2 separate regions of the Homo sapiens genome follow, and region 2 is linked to region 1. The links are contacts of gene promoters, found by promoter capture Hi-C in blood cells and fetal thymus (Javierre and others, 2016). All regions are on one chromosome and are shown on one strand. Each heading gives the region's core, a stretch centred on a gene start or on the middle of the fragment in contact. The rest is flanking DNA. Distances are from core to core; before and after follow the strand shown. Region 1 holds the start of SPTY2D1 (SPT2 chromatin protein domain containing 1). Region 2 overlaps SAAL1 (serum amyloid A like 1).

What was found. The method cuts DNA at HindIII sites, captures the fragments that hold promoters and counts their contacts. A CHiCAGO score of 5 or more calls a contact.
Region 2: a contact is called between a fragment that was not itself captured here and the fragment with the promoter of SPTY2D1 in region 1, in 1 of 17 cell types (naive B cells). The highest score is 5.3, in naive B cells.

Annotation. Positions count from the first base shown.
Region 1 is chr11:18,629,576-18,636,869 of GRCh38, forward strand. It overlaps SPTY2D1 (SPT2 chromatin protein domain containing 1), which reads right to left and starts at 4,767. Exons shown (of 6, transcript NM_194285.3): 1 at 4,623-4,767. The coding sequence starts at 4,682. LOC105376578 (a long non-coding RNA gene) reads left to right here and starts at 4,774. Exons shown (of 2, transcript XR_931097.3): 1 at 4,774-5,386; 2 at 6,305-6,418. RefSeq lists a silencer at 3,752-3,931 and an enhancer at 4,988-5,257. The HindIII fragment of the contact is 3,460 bases long and covers 3,463-6,922 here.
Region 2 is chr11:18,074,135-18,081,428 of GRCh38, forward strand. It overlaps SAAL1 (serum amyloid A like 1), which reads right to left. Exons shown (of 12, transcript NM_138421.3): 11 at 7,277-7,294; 12 at 6,158-6,357. The coding sequence ends at 6,265. Among named protein-coding and RNA genes, the nearest start is that of SAAL1, 28 kb to the right of the region's middle. The HindIII fragment of the contact is 2,953 bases long and covers 1,894-4,846 here.

The DNA.
Region 1 (7,294 bases), core at 3,517-6,016:
TAACTACTTTGTTTTTCCTACTGGAACCCAGGGAGAAAAATCAAGTGCAAGTTTACCAAAAATATCTTTTCTCCTTTATATATAAACAGAGCCAGTGACGACAACTTGTTTCATCACCTTGATCAGCAGTTATTATATATTCAGTTTTCCACTGGGAAATGACAGTGTGCCTACTATTTCTGGGCCTGATGCAATCCTACCTTTAACATAAAAAACTATTTGTTAAAAATTAAGAAACAAAAAAATGATGATTAGGGAAATACTCATAGCTTCTCAAGACAGATACAATAGGTAGCTTTAAAAAATAAAGCTCTGCCGGGCACGGTGGCTCACGCCTGTAATCCCAGCACTTTGGGAGGTCAAGGTGGGTGGATCACAAGGTCAGGAGATCGAGACCATCCTGGCCAACATGGTGAAACCCCATCTCTACTAAAAATACAAAAATTAGCTGGGCGTGGTGGTGGGTGCCTGTAATCCCAGCTACTCGGAAGGCTAAGCCAAGAGAATGGCTTGAACCCAGGAGGCGGAGGTTACAGTGAGCCAAGACCATGCCACTGCACTTCAGCCTGGTGACAGAGGAAGACTCTGTCTCAAAAAATAAAAATAAAAATAAAGCTCTGGCCGGGCATGGTGGCTCATGCCTGTAATCCCAGCACTTTGGGAGGCCGAGGCAGGTGGATCACGAGCTCAGGAGATTGAGACCATCCTGACCAACATGGTGAAACCCCATCTCTACTAAAAATACAAAAATTAGCTGGGTGTGGTGGCATGCGCCTGTAATCCCAGCTACTTGGGAGGCTGAGGCAGGAGAATCGCTTGAACCCAGAAGGTGGAGGCTGCAGTGAGCAGAGATAGCGCCACTGCACTCCAGCCTGGTGACAGAACGAGACTCGTCTCAAAATAACAACAAAAAGCTCTGCAAAGAGTCTGAAAGGCTGAAGTGGCTGTACAGGTGTTTGGATTTTAGTCTAATCATCGCTAGTCACTGGATTTCCTTACCATAGTAAAGGTCTGACCCAAGAACTCTGAAGACTGAAATTCTGAGCATTAGCTCTGATAGGTTCCAAATGAAGGTGGGAGAAGAAGTTGGCGAACAGGGAAAAATGAACCAATCAATAGAGAGAGATGCAGCCTAGTTAGTTATTGCAAAGCCTCTGTGGTTCTCAGATCAATTAATCAAGTAAATTTATAACAGCAGGGTGTGTATAGGGCAGGGAGGGATGTAGCTGTCTTTTTTTATTTTATTTTATTTTTCTTTTCATTTGAGACAGAGTCTCGCTCTGTCACCCCGGCTGGAGTGCAGTGGCACGATCTCCACTCACTGCAACCTCTGTCTTACTGCAACCTCCGCCTCTCAAGTTCAAGCCATTCTCCTGCCTCAGCCTCCTGAGTAGCTGAGATTACAGGTGTGCCCCACCATGCCTGGCTAATTTTTGCATTTTTAGTAGAGACGGGGTTTCACCACATTGGCCAGGCTGGTCTCAAACTCCTGATCTCAGGTGATCTGCCCACCTTGGCCTCCCAAAGTGCTGGGATTAAAGGTGTGAGCCACAGCACCCAGCCAGAAATAAAGCTGTTAATTGATACGATAGTCCCCAACTCTCTCTTTGTTTTTAATAATTGTGAAAATCATAGACATAGTGTACAGGGTAACAGATTATTAGAAAGCAAGTATCCTTTTAAGCTACCATCGAAGTCAAGAAACATTTCAAGACAGGCCTGGCTCAGTGGTTCACACCTGTACTCACAGCAGTCTGGGAGGCTGAGGTGGGCTGATCACTTGAGGCCAGGAGTTTGATACCAGCCCTATCTCTACTAAAAATACAAAAAAATTAACTGGGCGTGGTGGTGCACCCCTGTATTCCCAGCTACTCAGGAGGCTGAGGCAGGAGAATGGCTTGAACCTGCGAGGCGGAGCTTGCAGTGAGCCAAGATTTCGCCACTGCACTCCAGCCTGGGCAACAGAGACTCCATCTCAAAAAAAAGAAAAGAAAAGAAAAAGCTTTATTTCTTTTAAAATAGATAACAAAAAAAAAAAAAAAACCACCAAACACTTTATTTCTTTTAAAATAGATGGCAAAAAAAGAAAAAAAGCTTTATTTCTTTTAAAATAGATGGAATAAATATGGGGAAATGTTAATATGCTAAATACGGGGTTTGGGTATATTAGAAATGTGTTAACATTCCTTATGTTTGAAAGTGTCCAAATTACTTTAAGCTGATAAGGAAAAAGTAAATAGAACAGTTAGATGAATCAAGTTAAAGCAAATCAAGTAAAGCATGAAATTTGGCCGGGTGTGGTGGCTCACACCTGTAATTTCAGCACTTTGGGAAGCCGAGGTGGGCGAATGACTTGAGGAAGGAGTTCAAGACCAGCCTGGCCAACATGGTGAAACCCTGTCTCTACCAAAAATACAAAAGTTAGCTTGATGTGGTGACAGGTGCCTGTAGTCCCAGTTACTCAAGAGGCTGAGACAGGAGAATTGCTTGAACTCAGCAGGTGGAGGCTGCAGTGAGCCGAGACCATGCCACTGCACTCCAGCCTCCAGCCCGGACGACAGAGTGAGACTCTATCTTAAAAAAAAAAAAAAAGAAGAAGAAGAAATTTAACTACAGTCTTATCCTATTCCTCAATAGTTTCTTTTGTGACTTTAATTCCACATAAAAAGATAAGAATTATAATGCTGGTAACTAAATCAAACTTCTAGGCTTACTAGCTTTGGCGGGGAGAGGTCAGAGAATGCATGATTCATAAAATATATGGCTATATTATCTATTGATTTTTTTTTTTTTGAAATGAAGTTTTTCTCTTGTTGCCCAGGCTGGAGTGCAATCGCACGATCTCAGCTCACTGCAATCTCCGCCTCCTGGGTTCAAGCAATTCTGTCTCAGCCTCCCAAGTAGCTGGGATTACAGGCGCACACCACCATGCCCGGCTAATTTTTGTATTTTTAGTAGAGATGGGGTTTCATCATATTTGTCAGGCTGGTCTCAAACTCCTGACTTCAGGTGATTCTCCCGCCTAGGCCTCCCAAAGTGCTGGGATTACAGGCCTGAGCCATTGCGCCCATCTATTAAATTTTAAATTACTTTTTTCCCCTTTTTGATTCTTCTGTTATTCCAATCATAGATAATGCATATATTATGACATATACACATATTTTGAAATTTTCTGCTTTAGGATTATCTGTCTGCTTTTCTCCCAGCAGCTACTGGCTTTCAGAATAAGAAATGACTTAGTTCTGATTCTTCCACAGAACAGTACTGGGCATCAAAGCTAGTACTATCTTTGACCTTTACTGAAATTCAATAAGATCTAGAATGAAATACAGACCAAATTATGCAAAGATGAATGGTTACTAGACCCAATATTGATTCATCTGGAAAATTTACAGATGCTTCTAGAAAGTAAATCTGTTGATCTGGGTTTCAAAGGTTTGAGTCTATACCTTCAACATGCAAAGCTTATGACTCACGGCTTAGAGGAATGGTTATTCAGAGTTCTTGGGATAAGGGATGGCTGTGTGTGTGTATATATACATATATTTATAAACATAAATATAGACCTTTTTCAGATCAATATTTTCAAAGGGATAAAAGAATGAACTAGCCTCAGAAGACAAAAAAAAGCTGCAGAAGAGAAAAAAACGAATATTGCAATATACGAATATCTAGGAAATGCAGAGCACTTCGTCGGAGCTCAATAAATTCTAGCTGAATTGACTTTGAGAGCCGTTTTAGTTCTATACCTCACTGCTCAAACCGCAGGCATCACCATGCAACTTATCGGTTTACAGCTGTGCTGTGGGTACCATCTGAAAATCTGGAAATGATTAGCTTATGCAAAACAGCCATAACCCCCAGAAACCAGGCGCTCTCCACCACTTTACCATTTAAGTCTTACACCGCTCTTGCGACTGTAAGCGAACTGACAAACATCTACTGACCAAATGGGACCTAGATTTTAAACAAAGACTGAAATCTGGAAGGCTACAAGTAAACAGAAGCTGAAACTAGCTCACCTATTCTGTTGGCCAAGGATTTCGTGGAATCTGCTAAACTTCTCTTCCCAAAAGATGATACCTATCCCCTGGGAGGTGATAATTTAATCACCTCGGTGGCTGAGTGGGTGGGGCCGAGTCAGAGAATTCTTTCAAGAAATCGCTAAACGTTTGACTTGAAGATCGATGAGAAGCCAGCCAAAAAGCTATCAAGCCAAGGACCCCAAACCCCCTAACTCCCTTACATACATATTTCCTTCCCAATCTCTAGGCTGAAGTTTATGTGGAAGCCAAAAACTACCAGCGCTAGAATCCACAGCGTGCCAGGCACAGCTCACTCACGGCTTTCACGCAATTCTAGCTACAACACCCAAACCGCAAAGTCCCTGTTGCAGGGGTAAATAAGCCGGCGAAACCCATTCACAGGAAGGCTCCCGCGTCTCGTCCCAAGCTCTTTTCTCCCGAGTTCCCAAGAGTATAAACCCAAGAAAAGGAAATAAGGCGTCCGGGTCTTTCCTCTCCCGGAGCCGATAGGCGGCTGCCCAGAAGTTCCATGGGCCACACACATTCCGAACTTGGAAGACTAGGGTCCCCTACATTGATGCCCCAGCTGCTACTTACCGGCACATTGTTGACACCTTGTCCCTTGGAAGCTATCATGAGAATTTCTCTGAAGTCCATGTTGGGCCGAGGCGGGAGAGACTGGGCCAGGCACTCGGAAAGGACTGACAGCGCACCTAACCGAGGCGCCCAGCTACAGCCAACTGCACTGCCTCGGGAGCCCCACTCCCACCCCGCCTCTGCGGGACCACTTCCGGCGCCTTCCTATGCCGTCTGCCCGCCCCCTTCCCTCCACGGCCTATATCCTTTCAGGGCCGCCACAGCGCTCGCGAGTCCCTGCGTAACTTCCGCTTTTAGGCCGAGACACGTACAAACGTGATACGTGGCTGCTGGCGTCGACCCGAGGGGCAGGGACTAGGCATTTTAGCAACCAAGGGGGTGTGGCTAAGCGAGAGAGCGGCTTCCCTGGTGGCCCGGGCGCGCGGTCTTGTCATCTTGTTGCTCCTTGTGAGCGCTGGGTAGAGAAAGTGAGGGGGTAGAGGGTTTACTTGCCAGGCCTGGGTTCTCTGGGTGTCACGGGTAGGCGCTTAGATCCAAAACGGCGGCGCCACAACAGCTGAACAGACGGATCTCGAGCCGGGGTTTGGGCTACTTGTGTCTAGGCGCTCGCGAAGCTGCGCAGGCGCACACAGCAGCGCCGTGGTCCTGTCTTGGATGCCCATTACTCATCAAATTCGGCCACATGCCGTGCGCTTACCTCCTACTCAGATGCACGCGTGCCGGGGATGGGGGCACGCGCTTACTTCTTTTGCCCCGTTTAGAAAGTAAGTTTTATGTGGAGCAGCCAACCTGTGTTTTTGCTCAGGCAATGGATTAAGGAATTTCACATACAGACCCAGCCTTGACATAACTTTGGTGTACTGATGAACATATGCTTCATATTCATATTCATTGGGATCCTAGTCCTGACTTCTTTTGGAGAGTTATCTTGGATCTGTAAGGTCATTTCGACTTAGCAAAAACACTGAAAATAATTAGGCAAACCTGGGTCTGCAAGTGGGAACCCGCCAGGGGATTGATAGCAAACAGGTACTCGGGATCTTTTCGGTGGGATGGAAATGCCTCCAAACTGGATTGTGGGGATGGTTGCACTATACATGTACTAAAAATCGTACACTTAAGACGGGTGAGAATGATACAGTATGTAAATATGTCAAGCTGTTAAAACATGCTAGACAGGCCGAGCGCGGTGGCTCACGCCTGTAATCCCAGCACTTTGGGAGGCCGAGGCGGGCGGATCACGAGGTCAGGAGATCGAGACCATCCCGGCTAAAACGGTGAAACCCCGTCTCTACTAAAAATACAAAAAATTAGCCGGGCGTAGTGGCGGGCGCCTGTAGTCCCAGCTACTTGGGAGGCTGAGGCAGGAGAATGGCGTGAACCCGGGAGGCGGAGCTTGCAGTGAGCCGAGATCCCGCCACTGCACTCCAGCCTGGGCGACAGAGCGAGACTCCGTCTCAAAAAAAAAAAACAAAAAACATGCTAGACAAAGCTGCTGGCTCTTACTCTTTGATGGTTTAATGCTGCGAACGTAATTCAAAATCAAAGCTGTTGGAACTTTAAGTTATTTTGCGCCTTAAAAGAATGTTATTATGGAACCTGAGCTACATAACAGGCAGCTGCGTTTGTTCCTCTGATTATAGATTAGCCTTTCTTTCCTACATCGTTTTGTGAAAACACAGGGAGAAGACAGCCATGTACAAACCAAGGAGAGAGACCTCAAGGTAACCACACCTTGATCATGGAATTCTAGCCACCAGAATTGTTAAGACAATAAATGTCTGTTGTTTAGGCCACCTAGTCTGTGGTACTTTGTTATTGGCAGCCCTAGCAAACGAATACACTGGCATATGGTGTTTTCAATTAATGCCAACCATCATTTCTCAAGGAAGCTCTTCCTGAGCTATCTCAGGGCCCCTTTTATAAATTCTTACAGCCCCCCAGTATTTCCCTTCATGCAACATTTTACAGTTTGTAATTACATATTTGTTCTTTTTTTTTTTTAAACTATTGGCTATATCTGTGATAGACAGAGCTATGAAAATGGGCATAAGCCTATTTTACCCATCACTATTTCCATCACCAGCACAGTTCCCTGCTAATGCACATAAAAGTTGCAACAAAGATTTTTTGACCAAATTAATGAATCGATAAGTGGAAAGCTCCCAAGATTCAATATTGTAGTACTTAGCATACATTGAGCCATTACTATATGCTTAGTGCTTGACATGGATTATCTGACTTGATCATGAGTGTTGTATAAGGCATTTCCTGTTACTGTTTTATAGATGAAAAGCTGAAGCTTGAAGAGATGAAATTAGACTTATACTGTACCATTAGTCAATCGGAGAGCCAAGACTAGAACCCTTAGATTACCCAAACCAGACTCTATATTTCAGTTAGCCCATTTGAACTGGTACAAGTCTATGTACATGGAGTTATAATGTAAAAAAGGGCTTGGATTAGGTAACTAATACCTAGTTAGTCAAAATCAAGAACAACTGCTGGAGGTGGGAATGAGGTAAGGAATGAGAGGAGCAATTTTCCTGTATCCTTGTAAAACATTCTATCATCGAGTTCAGCAAATACTTCCTGGGAAACTACTACTGTGTGCCCAACCTTATGGATGATACAAAGAAAGACCCATATCCTGCCTGCCTGATCAGAACTTT
Region 2 (7,294 bases), core at 2,120-4,619, 560 kb before region 1:
CGGTAAATGACAGGAGCACAAGCAAACTGCTAAAAGTACTCTGCTTACATCAGCTCCATTAACATTCTATTGGCCAAAGCAAGTGACTTGGTCAAGCTCAAAGTCAAGGGACAGGGAAGTACACTCCATTCACGGAGAAGCCATGGCAAGGGCACGATACACAGAGGTGAAGAATCGAGAATAATGATCCAGTCTGCTACAGGATGCATGACCTCTATGCAGACCAGCTTCTTCCTCTGTTCTTCTTACACATGACTCTGGAATTCCAGGCCCACTAGGTCAAGATTTTTTCTGCTTTGTCCACAGTATTTCTATTACACAGATTTTGTCTGTTTTGTTTACTGCTGTCTTCCTAGTCCTTAGAATACCTGGTACATAGTGGATGATAAATATGACTGGCTGCCTCCTCCCAAATAGTGCCCTCAGCCTTGTAAGTTACGTGGTCTAGAGTCCTGTGTCCTTGAGCCAACCTGAGTTGTCCAGCTTGGGTTAGGAGTAATTCCCTTATTAAACCATACGCTGTAACCGGGGGAAGAATGTGGGCAGTCCAGCGGCAATTTTGGAGAAAGGAACGTGGATGTGCAGATAGCCTAGCTGTCTCTTCCATGTGATCTATCAAGACCTTCATGCTCCAGTCCATGCCTCCCCACAGTATGCAAGTACAGTATAGTGGCTAAAAGAATATTCATTAGGCTAGGCAGGTCCAGATCCAAGCCCTGGGTCAGCTACTTACTACCTAAATAACTTTCAGCAAGTTATTTTACCACTCTGAATCTTCATTTCTCCATCTATAAAATGGTGACAATTACCTTATGGGATTATTGCAAAATTAAATAATATACCTAAAGACCTTTACAGAGCATCTGACACATAGTAAATCCTCAATAAATGGCGGTCATCTCTAACAGGAAATTAAGTCTGGTGTCTACCACATCCTTCTGTGTCCTGAGGTAAATTTCGTATCACACTCATTTTAATTTCAACTTTAGTTGATTGTGTTGGGTCACACACTTAGCCCAAAGTAGCCAAATCACAGGTGACTCACACTGCTTGATACAAAAAGACTAGTAACTGCGCAAGAATTTCTCTCTCACAAATTTAAAGAAATACCAAGAGAATAAAGTGATTAAGCTGGCAGAACACAACCCCCCAAAAAAGACAGGCTGGTGTGGTCTTGAGAGACCACAGACAAGCTGAAGTCCTAAGAAAGAAGAAACGGAAATAAGGAAGCCAGGTGACACAGGGACTCAGAGCAGACCCTGATGCCACCTCCTTGGGTACAGATCCTCTCCCCTCCAGGTCTAATTTCAGTGTGGCATGACCCTCTCCCAGAATTGTGATCCTTGCCAGAGCCCTGAGGCATGAACAATTAGGATAAAATGAGAATGCCCTACTCCATGATGTTACTACACTATAGAATCTTGCAAACGTCCAGGGAAAACACAGTTGTTCAGAAAGGGCAATCACATGGGCACAATCATAATGATAGAAGGAGTAGCCTGATATTACGAAATCCTTGGCTGTGAAATGTGAACTTATGGAGGTTTTCTGGCTTTTATATTACAGATGTTCCTTGGGTTGTATAAAATTGGATTTAAGCAAATGTGACCTCATGCAAATTATCTAAGATACATCATAAAAGCTTAGCGATGCAGATTTTGCATTCTATATAGAAATACAAAGCAGTCAGGTTGATGAACAAATAGTATGAGAGGTGAGTGGAGGGCTAGCAGCACCACCACAAGGTTCCCTCCTGCTTCCAGTCTCACCTGTGGTTTTTTTTTTGGTTGCTGGACTGGCCCACAAGACTCAAGACTACATTGGCCCAGGCTCTTGTAAGTTTGACTAGCCCAATGACATAAAAGGAATAAGCATCATTCATAATCAAATTAAAGCTTAAGTTGTGTATCATTTATTTGCTTTTATAAACCTTTAACAGGAAGGCCAGGTGTGGTGACCTGCAAGCCCAGCACTTTGGGAGGCTGAGGCAGGATTGTTTGCAGCCAGGAGTTCAAGACAAGCCTGGGAAACAGTGAGAACCCATCTCTACAAAATCAATAAATAGGCCAGGTGTGGTGGCTCACGCCTGTAATCCCAGCCCACTGAGAGGCCAAGACAGGCGGATCACCTGAGGTCAGGAGTTTCAGACCAGCCTGGCCAATATGGTAAAACCCTGTCTACTAAAAATATAAAAATTAGCTAGGCTAGGCATGGTGGCTCACGCCTGTAATCCTAGCACTTTGGGAGGCAGAGGTGGGCGGATCACAAGGTCAGGAGTTTGAGACAAGTTTGACCAACATGGTGAAACCACGTTTCTACTAAAAATACAGAAATCAGCCGGGCATGGTGGCATGCGCTTGTAATCCCAGCTACTCAGGAAGCTGAGGCAGGAGAATCGCTTGAACCCGGGAGGTGAAGGTTGCAGTGAGCCGCGATTGCGCCACTGCACTCCAGCCTAGGTGACAGAGCAAGACTCCGTCTCAAAAAAAAAAAAAAAAAAGAAAGAAAGAAAGAAAGAAAGAAAACCCACAAAATTAGCCAGGTGTGGTGGTGCGTGCCTGTAATCCCAGCTACTCAGGAGGCTGAAGCAGGAGAATCGCTTGAACCTGGGAGGCGGAGGTTGCAGTGAGCCAGGATCACACCACTGCAATCCAGCCTGGGCAACAGAGTGAGACTCTGTCTCAAAATAAAATAAAAATGAATAAATAAATAAAAATTAGCTGGGCATGGTGGCATGCACCCATAGTCCCAGCTATTTGGGAGACTGAGATAGAAGGATGGCTTTAGCCCAGGAGTTTGAGGCTGCAGTAACCTATGAGTGTGCCACTACACTCTGGCCTGGGCAACAGAGCAAGACCTTGTCTCTGAAAAAAAAAAAAAAAAAAGTATAATGGAACCCCATGTAATTGTCACCCAGCTTCAGCAACTCCAATTCGCAGCCAGTCTTGTTTCATCTACTCCATTAACTTACTTCTTTCCCTCTGCCCCAGACTAATTTGAAGCAAATCCAAGACATCATACTATTTCACTATAAATATATAACTTTTAATAATGGTTCTTGGATCTCAAACCAGCAACAAAAAGAAAACATATTCTATTCAGGATGCTGAGGCAGGAGGATTGCTTCAGCTCAGGAGTTTGAAACCAGTCTTAGCAAGAATATAGTGAGATCCGTATCTCCAAAAAAAAAAAAAAAAAAATAGGAAAGAAAAATATGGTATGGTTAAGAGGGGCATTTGCCTATTTTCCCTTTCTTAAAACTTCTGACAGGAGCATGGAGGAAACTGAAGTTCCAAAGTGGTAAAAGAGAACACATGCTCAAGTAGAATAAATAATTCAGTCCTAAATTAATATGGACCTATTTCTTCTTTTTTAAAAAGGCTATTGATTAGGTCATAAAGAATATTAATTAAAAAAGAATATTAGTTGAAGAAATAGAATACTAGAGTTACAGATTATCAGCTTCACAGCTAGCTCAGACACAGCATCATTGCCCAGTCCTGAAGAACAGATAATGGTGTTCAATATTTCATACACTTAAGATTTTCTGAACCCCTAATAGAGGTTGTTTTTTAATGCTTATAGTCGGTTTCTACATGTGCTTCACCAAAAAAAAAAGTATATCAGGCTGAGAGGTGGCTCTTAAACTTTTTCCCACTTACATACCAAAATTATTCAGTAACTAATTCAAAGCAAGGCAACAGAAAATACTAAACATAGAGTGGGGAAACTCTTGATCTGGAAAGCTGAACCCACCAAGAAAACAACAGTTTAGCTATATCCCATTTGCTGTAGGGGATAAAATATCTTAAAAACAAAACAAAACAAAACAAAACAAAAACAAAAACAGTGGAAGGAAACCATGCCTTCTTTCTTAGTGGTTTAGGTACTTAAAATATCAAACTCAATATAACAAATGCTAACTCAAGCTCATTTTGCATTTTTCCTCTTCCCTGCCAAACAGTATAGGGAAAAAAATGAGTTTCCATTTCATTTGTGTATATAATTTCATCTGTATATAAAATTTCATATTTATGGTTCTGGAGAAAGCACCATTTCAAAATATCACTGCAACTGATTCAAGCACTAAATCTTGTGAGTGAATTCTTCAGAACATGCAGCATTAAAAATGCTTTAACACTGGTCACTTAAAAGTATCATAATTTATAGATATAGGATGTTTTCAAACATACCAAAGTACTATGAAAATATGTACCAAAACTCATAATGCTAACAATAAAGAAGTAACAAAGTAAACAGTGTAGGTCCAAGACAGAAATGTGAGCAGAAAATAAATTGGACACTCCTTGCCTTCCCACTACTATCCTTTCTCCTCCTCCCTCTGTAATTTGCCATTTTTGTGGAACACTCCTTCAGGTACATAAGGTCCTTGTGCTTCCCGTTTTAAAACACGCTCTCAGAAGGCTGGGCGTGGTGGCTCACGCCTGTAATCCCAGCACTTTGGGAGGCCGAGGCGGGCGGATCATGAAGTCAGGTCGAGACCATCCTGGCTAACACGGTGAAACCCCGTCTCTACTAAAAATATTTAAAAAATTAGCTGGGCGTGGTGGCTGGTGCCTGTAGTCCCAGCTACTCGAGAGGCTGAGCCAGGAGAATGGCGTGAACCCGGGAGGCGGAGCTTGCAGTGAGCCGAGATCCCGCCACTGCACTCCAGCCTGGGCGATAGAGCAAGACTCCGTCTCAAAAAAAAAGAAAAAAAATTAAAAACAAACAAACAAAAAAACAACAAAAAACATGCTCTCAGAAAAAAAGTGAAATTCATATGCACTGAGGTAAACATAACTAATAACCTCAAGTATTATTCTTAATCAGTGTTTGCATCTTAAGCTTAAACTTAAACAAAAAAAAAACCAAGAGTGGAATTTTCGTGTCAGCTAGCAGGTAGGAGTGATTTCATCAGTGCCTTTGAAATCTCATACTGAATATAGTCAATTCAGTCTACCAATAAGGTCAGCACTGAGGACATGCGAATATACATACAGTGTAGTATATATAAACCTACCAATGAGATTTCACCTGTAAGATTTTACTTTTATGTTCCAGTTCTTTTCAGCAGTGACACTTCCAACCATAAACCTACCTCTAAACTGGAAATCATATTATCTCTTACCAATAAGATTACTGTTTTTATCACCAAAAATCTGGTTTTATCACCAAAAATCTCTCAAGGAAAGAAAACAAAGTATGAGGCAAGACCAATGCTTTAAAGCCAAAAAACTGATATAAATTGGGAAGGGGCTATACCAAAAGTGAGGTTCAGAAAGCTGGCTTTGTTATTCCTAACAGATATTTTCTTAAAAATCTATTAAAAAGCACCCCCCCAACCCAGCCAAACACACATAAAGACTTGGTAGGAAAAAGCCCCTTCTCTTTCTCCCTTTTTCTTCCTGAATGTGGATAAAGGCCCAGAGATGGCACAGCCCCCTTAACCACAAGGCAATAAACATGAACGCAAAGGCCTACCTGGCAGACCACGTGAAGGGTGAAAGGAGCCACCTCATTACATCTGGATTTTTGCATAAGGTTCCTGAAAGAGATCAGATTCAGCTGCTACAGGAGGGTTTCTGTTACTGCAGCTGAATATACTTAACAGTGGATACAAAGACGTAATTCTCACTTAAAAAAATCAAATTAGGCTGGGCACGGTGGCTCACGCCTGTAATCCCAGCACTTTGGGAGGCCAAGGCGGGCAGATCACGAGGTCAGATCGAGACCATCCTGGCTAACACAGTGAAACCCTGTCTCTACTAAAAATACAAAAAATTAGCCAGGCGTGGTGGCGGGCACCTGTGGTCCCAGTTACTCGGGAGGCTGAGGCAGGAGAATGGCATAAACCCAGGAGGCGGAGCTTGCAGTGAGCTGAGATCGCACCACTGCACTTCAGCCTGGGCGACAGAGTGAGACTCTGTCTCAAAACAAACAAACAAACAAACAAAATTAACAGCTATGAAGAAAATCAACACTGATCTCGCACATATCCTAAAAAGAACCTCAATGATAAGCTTACATTTTTGCTTTCCTCAACTGAGGATGATAAATATCACATAAAAAGAGGGGTGACAGTGGTGAAACCTCAGATTCCAAAGTCAAAAAAAGTGAGACAAGTCTAGGACAGAAAAATGTTAACACCAGACAATTATGGTCTAATATGGGCTTTAGTTAATATTTCCAATAAGTCAATTTCAACTGTCAGTGAGAAAAATAAAGTTTATTTCTTGTACAGAAGTAATTCCAATTCAGGTTTTAAGTCTGAACCTTCAAACTTGGGAAGTTTTTTTCCAAGTCATCAGCAAGCGCCTTATCAACTTCACGTAGGATTTTAATAAAATCTTCCACCTGTGAGTCAAACAAACAAACAAAAATCAAACACAGAAGAGAAAAACGTGCTTTAAGGTACTGATTGCTCTACCTGTGGTTTCTAAATGGTCCAATGGAAAAGAAATGCTGGCAGATCTCCAGATGATAGTAACAGTACTTCCTAAGCAGTCTTCTAAATCATTCTCAAGGAAATGACTATGCTTTCCCATTCCGTTTTACTCTTGAGCTAGTACTTCTCCCCCCGCCTCTTCTTTACAGTCTGTTCCCACATTCTGTCCTTCATTTTCCTGAAAAAGTTCCTATTTTGAAATCTGATTCTAATGGTAGGAAATGTGATGTCATTTGAAGAACCATAAAAACCTACTGACTATTCCCAAGAATCTGATTTTGGCTTAATATAGATGTTATCTACTTCATAACAGAAAGGAGTACTATAAATTCAGAGCTTATTTTTTTCCTCTTAGAATTGTTACTCCCAATACTATTATGAATTTTCCAGTAGTCATCTTTTTTTCCCTCAACTTTTATTGTAGACTCAGGGGAGTCTAAATGTGCAGGTTTGTTATAAAGGTATATTACATGATGCCGAGGTTTGAGGCACAGATGAACCTGTTACCCAGGCAGTGAGCTTAGTACCCAATAGGTAGTTTTTCAGCCCTTGCCCTCCCTCTCTCCCTCCCCTCCTCCTGTGGTCCCCAGTGTCTACTGCTCCCATTTGTATGTCCATAGTATCCAATGGTTTAGCTCCTACTTCCAAGTGAGAACATACGGTATTTGGTTTTCTGTTTCCAGCAGTCATCTATCTGACAAAGGCATTAAGTCATATAAATTGTATATACTATCATTTTTGACAATGACCTCGAAATCAAGTGCTTACTTGAAAACATTTAGTAATCCTACAAAACTTGGCCACCTATATACATTTACCCATACTCACCACAGGGCTATAGAAAGG